3 separate regions of the Homo sapiens genome follow, and all the other regions are linked to region 1. Evidence: promoter capture Hi-C in human tissues and cell types (Jung and others, 2019). All regions are on one chromosome and are shown on one strand. Each heading gives the region's core, a stretch centred on a gene start or on the middle of the fragment in contact. The rest is flanking DNA. Distances are from core to core; before and after follow the strand shown. Region 1 holds the start of C1QTNF1-AS1 (C1QTNF1 antisense RNA 1). Region 2 overlaps RBFOX3 (RNA binding fox-1 homolog 3). Region 3 overlaps RBFOX3 (RNA binding fox-1 homolog 3).

Region 1 (3,017 bases), core at 318-2,817:
TTGAGGTCTCAGAGACAGGGATGGAGGACTCAAGACTCCAATCTGTGTCTTTATCCCAAGTGCGTCATATGCTTCTTTTTTTTTTTGAGACAGAGTTTCGCTTTTGTCATCCAGGCTGGAGTGCAAGGCCAAATCTCGGCTCACTGCAACCTCCACCTCCCAGGTTCAAGCGATTCTCCTGCCTCAGCCTCCCAAGTAGCTGGATTAGAGGTGTGTACCACCACGCCTGGCTAATTTTGTATTTTTAGTAGAGACTGGGTTTCACCCTGTTGGTCAGGCTGGTCTCAAACTCTTGACCTCAAGTGATCCACCCGCTTCAACCTTCCAAAGTGCTGGGATTACAGGGGTGAGCCACCGCGCCTGGCCTCCGGGGCGTATACTTTTAACCTTCCTATCTGGTGTTGGGAACATGGCACTCAGCTCGCCAAGCTGATGCTGGGAACTTCTCTCTCCCAGCTGCTAACAGAGAATGCCCAGGGGCAGGAAGGACACAGGTCCGCTACCCAGGGACTCTCTACTTCTCCTCCCGCCTCCCTCTCCTCCTCTTGTGTTGCCAAGGGTGGTGTCCCCAGTGAGCTCATTCAGGGAGGCAGGAAGCATGGTGCAGGAAGCCCTAGGTGGGCGCTGTGCGGCTACAGGACACCACTGCCCCTCCCAGGCAGGTGCAGCCAGCTGGCGAGGGACGTCCTCCCAAGTAGGAGCAGAGAAAGCCCAAGCTGTCCCAGGAAGGCCATGGGTTCCCTCCTTGTTCCTAGGAAGTGACCCCCCTTTTCAGGGCAACCAGGACAACAGAGTGTTTTTGGAACATGCTCCTTTCTGTTCTTCTTCCTGGTGCCTCCCCCCAGCTGTAATTAGCATGACTCATAAACCAAATATTCTGGCATTGAACTTTGCTCATCAAAACAAAGATGAAAAGAATTTCATAGATACAGTTGTGCGCAGGGACTGGAGCTTCCCATTTGTGTCTTGTCCTCAGGGGTCCCTGTTCCTGGGCGGGGGGGGGCTGTGGCTGAGGCTCCAGAACCTTAGGGAAGGGGTGGGGGTGACGGACACCAGGAAGGGCAGGAAGAAGTAGCAGGTTACACCATCCCCTGGACGATCCCACCTCTGCCTGACAATCAGTAGCCTCTAGAGATGTTCAAGTGGGGGCACTCCCTCATGGGCCACAGGTTGCCATTTCCCCTGTTAACCTGCTGAAATTGGCCTGCTGGTGTCAAATGGCACAAGGCAGCTCTCTGGACAGGACCCTGCCATCTCCCTGACCCCTTCATACAGGGCAAGAACTCACCTGCCCACTTTAGAGAGCAGTCTGGAAGAAACAGCGACGTCAGCTCAGCTCAACAATGTGTTTCCTTCAGGCTCTCTTGGGGCAGCCCAGCAAGCCGCTCTCATGAGCCAGGGATCCTTGGGGCCCTGTCCTGGGGTCTATGCTGGGGTCCTTGGCCTGGAAGGGCCAGTCCTGAGCTTAAGCAGGGACATGCAGGAGCAGGACATGCTCACTCCTTTCCTCCTTCCCGAGCCCCGCAGTGAGATGCTCCAACTGCTGCCGCTGCAGCCTCTAGTTCTCTGGGAGAGGCATGCGGTGTGAGCAGGAAGGGAGGGGCTTCGGAGCCATGTGGGAAGGATCTTTATCTCTGGGTCCTTGTCAAGGTCACGGCTGTGTGACACTTGTGCTGGGGTGATATGAGTGGCTCTTGGCAAATCAGCACCCCTCCAGCTGCCTGTTCTTGCCTACATTTGATTTCCAGAGCTGGGCTTGGCATCTGAATGTGGTTCAAAGGGGGATGGTCTCCAGCAGGGGCACGGGGACCCCCACAGTCCCCACTGTACACCAGGGCACTGCTATCTTGCCTCTGAGGCCCCCTGGATCTAAGCCGTTCTCCAGCTTCAGATGGGGCTGGCACAGACTGCAGGCCCCTCCCCGGGCCCCCATCCTGTCCAGGACGGCCGTCGGGACGGCTGTGGCCGGGCCGGTGTCTGCCCATCTCCCTGGCTCCTGTAGGAATTTTCCTTGACACGAGACAGAGTAGAGCAGGAGACGGCAGGCAGGGAGGCAGGAGTCGAGGGGAGGAGGAGAAGAGGCAGACAGGCAGGCGGGGCATGGGGAAGTCAAGTTCTTGGTGCCCTGTGCTGGGTCAAATGTTGTTCTTGGCCACGGCTAAAGCCACACTTGGTGGAATGCCCCAAACCCTATGCTTTGGGTTGTACCCATCCCCCTCAGCAAGACATCTGGATAACAGCCACCCTCTGCCCTGGGGAGCAGGGAAGCTGCTGGGAAAGCTGCCAGCCCTGGGTGGGTTCGAGGCAGATGTAGGTCAGAAGGCGGGCAGGGCCCCCTGACTCTGCCCACAGGTTCCTGGGGCCAGTCTTCAGAGCTGGGGACAGAGGTGTGTTCAGAAAACGCTTAGACCCATTCTCCTTGTAAAGAATCTAAAGTGAGAGATGGAAGGATCTGGGTGGGTTAGGGGGTGACCACAGGTCTCTTGCGTCCTCTGGCATTCAGGGGAGCCCCCTCCTCCATGAAAGGATATCAATGAGGGCAAGGCCCATGGTCCTGAGGGTCCTCCCCGTGTGGTGCGTGAACTTAGATTCCTTTGCAACTCAGAGCTCAGGTCTGCTTGTGCCCATTAGAGGGCACTGGTCGGGAGAGAAAAATCATCTGTACCCCAGCACATGGGTCTTTTCCTCCCTTCTTCAGAGCTTGCCAGCATGCTGGTGTCTCTTCACCCTACAAAAGCAGTGCCCTAAAAATGCACATCCGATGGGCCACACTGCCCAAGCCCCTCACATTTTAAGGTGTGTGTGTGTGTGTGTGTGTGTGTGTGCATGCACGCGCGGGTGTTCCTGGTGATCCTGTGCCTAAATCCAAAGGAATTAAACTCCGGTGGTGTATTTTAAGATGCTAGCAGGCTGGCACCAGGGATATCTTAGCACATTGCATCAAGGAAGATGGTTACAGGTTTCCCTGGTACCCCATACCATACCTGGCATGTAGTGGGCACTCGGTAATCCTCTGT
Region 2 (3,017 bases), core at 142-2,641, 120 kb after region 1:
ACCCAGAGACAGGTGTCTGGCAGACAGGAACACGGTAGCCTCTCTAGGTTTTGGGAGCGGTCATGGCTAACACTCCTTGCAGCTGTGTTCTGTGCCTGGAGTCTCCATTCTGGTTGGAGGACTGGGGTCCCGTTTCCCACCCACAGTCCCTTCTCCAGCCTCCCAAGGTCCCTTCCCAAGCCTCTCGGCTGCCTCCTGCAGGCCTCACTCAGAAACTCTTTCCTGGCTTGGGGCGGGTCCAAGTCTAGATGTTTCTAGAAGCTCAAACATGCCCTGTGCCCCACTGCTGGGGCCTGGGTGACAGAAGTTGGGGGGTGGAAGGGGCAGGGCTCATGCCACAGCCTGAAGCCAAACCCAGGTTTGAGCCACAGGAGGAGGGAGAAGCACCCCACACCCCCCCAGACCATGGTTCCAATCCTGCCTCTGTCCCCGGCCACTGAGTGCCTCCCGAAGGCCACTGAACTTCTCTGGGTATCCGCTTCCTAGTCTTCAACTGAGGCTAACAGTAGTTGGGGCCACCTTACAGGTTGTTGAGAATAAACTAAGACCAAGATCTAATCTCAGTGCCCGACATGAGGCAGTTGCTTCCTGGAAGTGATGAGAGTTGGGCGACTCTATCCCAGAAGCACAGGCCACAGAGTCTGAGGACGCAGGGGAGGGAGGCCGACCCCGCCGGGGCTCCCTGCAGCCTCCGAGGGCCTCTGCGGGCCTGGCTGGGGTAGGCTAAGGCCAAAGTCCCCAGAGGATGGGAAAGGCTGAGACCACCCTCGCTGGCACTGATCAGGTCCTGAGTTTGTAAGGTCATGGGGGATGGAGGGGGACAGCCTGGGGCTTTCTCCAGGAACTTCAAGGGGCTGGAATAATTCATTCAAGAAACGCTAACCATAAAACCCTCATGCTGTTCTGGGCTTGGACTGGGTGGGATTCAAACACTCAGCCTGCAGCTCCCACCACTGACGAACAGCGCACTCTAAAGCTTAAGAAGCACAAGGAGATCCTCCAGGGCATGGAGGCTCCCGCAGCACCCAGGCTGGGACCCCCGCTGCCTGCCAGGAAAATGCGACGTCTGTGCTATTATTGCCGGGGTTACACCAGGGATGGTGTTTCCAAATTAGCAAAGGCCTGGGAAGGTGGCAGGGCATCCATCTGGGGCTTAGTAGAGCGTGGGAGGCAGCATCTCGGGACCCCTCCCTGGCCCGGTGCAGCCACGGGGAGCCCAGATGCAGGCAGTGGGGGGAGTGGGGGCACGGGGGAGGACAAAGGGGGGCTTGGCTCAGGCCCAGCCCCGGCCCCTCCTGGTGGCTCTCCCCACTCGTTGGATTGGAACACGGGCATTGCTGTCCTGGGGGAGGAGCAGGGCTGGACACGAGAGTGGACCTGGCCTCAGTGAGAAGGACTTTGGTGGGCTGTGGGGAGGAGCTTCAGGCTGTGAAGTGGGTGGGGCAGTGGGAAGTGTGCCTGGGGGGGTCCGTGGACGATTCCTCCTTCGGGACTGCTTGACCACTGCCTTCCCCGCCAGCTGGACCGTCCCCACACACTGCAGAAGGTTGGGGGTGGCCTAGGGGCTCATGCCCGCCCGCTCAGGCCTTCTCTCACTTTGTCGGACCCAAGACCCTGGGATGTCGAGTGGGGTCAGTAAACGGACCTGCAGGTCCTGGGAGGACAGGGCAGGGCGGCTGCTGGGCATCGCCATGAGCTGAGCTTCCACTGAGCATCTCTGAGTGCCAGGGTGAGGGGACAGAGATGGCTGCCAGCCTCCTCCTCTGGGGCCTGGAGACAGGAGGGGGACAGGTGTTATAATAAGCAGTGACAGTGGCTGCGCTGAGGACTCAGGCTAAGTGCCAGGGTGGGGATGGGGATGGGGGCTGAGGGTGGGGATGGGGATGGGGGTGGGGGTGGGGGATGGGGATGGGGGTTGAGGGTGGGGGGTGGGGGTGGGGGATGGGGATGGGGGTTGAGGGTGGGGGTTTGGGGTGGATCTAGTTGGAGGCAGACAAGGAGGGACTCTCAGGTATCCACAGGGGAGGGGCAACCAGGAGCTGCCCTTGAGGTCAGGACAAGAGGGTGGTGGGCAGCGGTGGGCGGCAGCTGTGGGCCACGACCTAGAGCAGCAGCCACGTCCCAGGAGACTGAGGCCCTCAAGGCACAAAGCCTCGTGGGGGGTCCTGGCTGGGGCCCAGGCCACTCTGCTTGGGTAGGACGCTCTGGGTCAAGGGGCAGAGTGGCTGCTGTGGGCCTGGGACACGCAGACAGTAGAGGCCTGGCCGTTCTCTGGGCTCTGCAGGCGGCCAACCCCCTAACTCAGCTCCATCCGCAACCCCCATACCCTGTTCCCCAGCCCAGGAGGTTCCTTCAGTGCCTCAACCTCACCCTGGTCCCGCCTGCCCATCACTCAAGATAGGAGGCAGCTGAACTGCCGGACACTCTACAGGTGGCCGCGCTGGCTCAACTTCTTTGAGAACCAGGGGAGACAATGGGAGGTGCAGGGCCACCAGAGCTGTCACTGAAGTAGGGGATACCTGACCACCTCTGGGGGCAAGGCCAGGCCTGCCAGGGGCAGGGGCAACAGATTCACCTCCCATCTCCTCCTTTCCCCAGCAACCCCACACCTGCCCCACATTCTTAGCCAGAGAAGAGGCAGGTAGGGATGGGCACTTCCGAGAAAAGAGGGGGGCAGGGAACTGCAGAGGCCACAGGGTGCCTCTGACTGGCCATGGGGCCTCAGGGGGGTCACCTCAGCTCGAGCCTCAGTGTCCCCGTGTGCGCAATGGGAGGACGAGGGCTTGCTCATGCCTAGCGCCGCCTGCGAGGGAGCCTCAGTTGGGCAACGAGCCTGGCTTGCTGCCTGCCACAGAGGGCTGGGCAGTGCTGGTGGCCGCCCCGCTGCTGTGCGGCTCTCACCAGGGCAAGGCCACCTCCCCAGTCCACGCTCCGCAAGTGCTCAGCACACACACATCCCTCCACCATGCTGGGCCCTGGACTCTCAGAACCACAATAAATGCAGCTCTTGGCGCAGA
Region 3 (3,017 bases), core at 518-3,017, 68 kb after region 1:
GGGAATGGAGGGGCCTCAACGGGACTTTATTATAGTGAGGGAGCTCAGGGAAACGGATCAGGCACATTGGGGTGCTTTCCAGAGGACCAGATGGTACGGTGGGCTGACCAGCCATTCAACCTGCTTCCCCGCAACTGAGAGGGCGTGAGGGGCCAGCCCTCCCCTCACCCTAACTCACATCCAGGCCGTGGTCCTTCCAAAGTCTCCGGGACCAAGGCATTGGTCAGAGGGCTCGGCCTCTCCCCCAAGGGCCTCACCACCCATGCCCAGCTGTTAGGACTGGCACCCAGGGCTGGGCGGGCCTGGGCTCCTTACCATGGTTCCAATGCTGTAGGTCGCCGCGGGCCCGATGGTGTGATGGTACGGGTCGGCAGCTGCGTAGACTCTGCCGTAACTAGGGAAGAGCGTGGGAGGGGGAGTGGGAGGAGGGTGGGGGAGGGGGGCAGGTGAGGGGCAGCAACGGCCTCCCACCTCCTCCCAGACACTACATGGGCACCCTGTACCGAGGTCCCATCTGCAAGGCACCCTCCCCTCCTGCAAGGCCTGCAAGGCCTACCCCTCCTTCTTGTTAAGAAGGAAGCTTCTGGAACACAACAGGCAACCCTCTCAATATGCCCACAGTGTGCTGACCCTGACGGGGTGGGGGGAGGGGGTGTGTTCCACTCAGTGCTACGTGGAGGGGGATGGTGTCCTCATGGAGCTCGTCTGCAGGGAAAACAAACTTCCACCCCAAAAAGAATGTGGTAAATACTGGGGAGGGTTTCAAGAGAAGAGAGAGGGTCAACGAGGAGGGACCAGGAACACTGCCCCCAAGAATGTGACACTTGTGTCCCTCACGACTTTCCCTTCAGCAGTTTGTCTGTGCAGGGAACTCTCAGCTCCTTAGAGAGCAGAGCTGGGCCACGGCACCCTGTACACCACACTTCAGGGAGATGGAGCCGGGGCTGCCAGGAGGGAGGGGGTACAAGCGGTCCCCAGACCAGAGTGGTGGAGCTCAGCTACCAACAGGCCAGATGTCTGAGGGGAAAGGCACTAGGCTAGGTTGCTCCAGGAGGAAGCACTCAAGCGTCTGCCTCCAAGACAGACAGCCACTGTGGGCACGGGGCTTGCGGGGGGCGGTGGGGGGACTGGGAATCAGAGATGCGGTCTCCACCTGGGGTTTCCACAGCCTCCCCATGGGGTAAGCAGGAAGTGACTGAAGTCAGGGGCTCACTGGCTCAAGGGCCACACTCAGACCTGCTCCCCTGTCCCGACCCTACTCCCGCCAGGCCTGGAAGAGTGGGTTACGCCTCCTGCCTGTCTGGGCCCAGCTCCCCAGGGATCCTTGTCCATCTTCTCCCCACCCTGCTCCAGAACAGTGCTGGCCCCCGGCCTCACCTGTCGCTGTAGGCTGCCGCCGCTGCAGCGGGCTGAGCGTATCTGTAGGCTGCGTAGCCTCCCTGCAGGGTAAGTGGGAGGAGAGAGAGCAGAGGGACTTAGTGGGGCTCCCCAGGGAAAGGCTGAGTGGGGAGAGGAGACAGACCCTGTGCGGGTGGGGCCCTGGGAGGGACTACAGACCTTCCCAGCCTCCCAGCCTCGGCTGGGTAAGGATTAGGTGGTACCTGGCCTGGGCACCTAGTTCTGGTCTAACACAGGACCGAGGACTGCAGATGGCTAGGTGGCACAGTTCAGGGCGAGGCAGGTCTGCCTGTCCACTCCATTCATTCACTCATTCATTCACACATCCATCTGTGCACTCCACACACATTAGCGGGTACCCATGACTCATCTGGCTGGGTGCTAGGCCTTGGCAAGGAAGAGGTGCTCACAGACCTGCCACCAGGCCACTGAGGCCTGACTTGGATGCTGAGGGGCTGGGAGAACCCACAGTGACTCTGGATAGTGTCCTGGACACCAGGAAGGGTCAAGGGTAAAGGGCACAAGAGGACGTGAGCTCAGATGATGTCCTGGCCTCAAATGGGCAGGTAACTGAATTGTAGGCAGCTGCCCAGGACTGAAGGGTGGCTGGGTACATGGGGTGTGGCCGTCAGTGAGTCTGAGACAGAGGAAGCAGCACATGTGGCCCCATGAAGGGGGAGAAAGGCCACCGGACCCCATCAAGGGGGGTAGGCCCTGGAGCACAGGCACCCAGGGGCCCTGCCTCCTGGCCCCTCTTGCAGCCCGTGCTGTGGGTGCCTTAGGGGCTCACTCACTGACCGCAGCGTGGTTAGGGACGTGGCAGAGTCCCACTGCCCCCATTATATGAGGCCTTGCCCACAGGAAGATGGTTTCAGCTCACAGGGCTGCTGGGCGGCCCATTAACTGCTCCCTTGATGGGTACCAACAACCAAACTGTGCCATGCTGGGATTCTCAGGGATGCCATACTCTGGGCAGACGTGGCACCCTCGCCCTCCTGGCTTCAAGGGTGGGATGGGATGGGATGGGAGGAGCGGGCAGTGAGAGAGGAGACGCCGACTTCTCATTGAGACCCACAGAACGCCTGATCCCACCCTCCCTCCCGGCGGGGCTACACTTACATAAATCTCAGCACCATAAAATCCATCCTGATACACGACCCTGGAAGCAAACGGACAAGAAAGTGGTGGGAACGCTGGAGAGGTGGGGTAGGCCGGCTCCGGTGTCTGCTGAGGAGGGAGGGGGCACGGTGCCAGCCCCGCCCATGGGACTGGCATTTTAACAAGCGTTTGCTCCAGTGCCCTGTTTTGGTATAACAATAGAGTAACACCCTTGCTGATCAGCAACTTTCTCCCACAAACCCCGGGGCCCATAGCCCACCCGACCCCAGGCAGCTGTGCCCCCCACCCCTTTAGTGATGGAGGGCACCAGACCCCAGGGAATGGGAGCAGAGAGGGCTCAGAGAAGCCCCTCGCTGACCTCAAGAGTGGACAACGGCCCCATTAAAGCATCCAGACAAGGTTCTGGGGCTCTGAATGTCCCCCTAAATGCCAGTGACCTCCGCGATGCCCGCCGTGGTGGGGATAGGGGTGAAGATAATGGAGGCAGCTGCAGGGCTGAG

Evidence for each region. The method cuts DNA at HindIII sites, captures the fragments that hold promoters and counts their contacts. A contact is called where the count stands out against the background at its distance.
Region 2: a contact is called between a fragment that was not itself captured here and the fragment with the promoter of C1QTNF1-AS1 in region 1, in 3 of the 25 tissues and cell types used here (dorsolateral prefrontal cortex, lymphoblastoid cells and mesendoderm cells).
Region 3: a contact is called between a fragment that was not itself captured here and the fragment with the promoter of C1QTNF1-AS1 in region 1, in 3 of the 25 tissues and cell types used here (liver, lymphoblastoid cells and thymus).

Annotation. Positions count from the first base shown.
Region 1 is chr17:79,026,088-79,029,104 of GRCh38, forward strand. It overlaps C1QTNF1-AS1 (C1QTNF1 antisense RNA 1), which reads right to left and starts at 1,568. Exons shown (of 3, transcript NR_040019.1): 1 at 1,289-1,568. The region is part of intron 1 of C1QTNF1 (C1q and TNF related 1); the gene reads left to right. The HindIII fragment of the contact is 4,721 bases long and covers 1,546-3,017 here.
Region 2 is chr17:79,148,106-79,151,122 of GRCh38, forward strand. The region is part of intron 4 of RBFOX3 (RNA binding fox-1 homolog 3); the gene reads right to left. Among named protein-coding and RNA genes, the nearest start is that of ENGASE, 75 kb to the left of the region's middle. The HindIII fragment of the contact is 7,480 bases long and covers 1-3,017 here.
Region 3 is chr17:79,094,136-79,097,152 of GRCh38, forward strand. RBFOX3 (RNA binding fox-1 homolog 3) reads right to left here. Exons shown (of 15, transcript NM_001350451.2): 12 at 2,518-2,698; 13 at 1,378-1,439; 14 at 316-394. Among named protein-coding and RNA genes, the nearest start is that of ENGASE, 21 kb to the left of the region's middle. The HindIII fragment of the contact is 6,672 bases long and covers 1-3,017 here.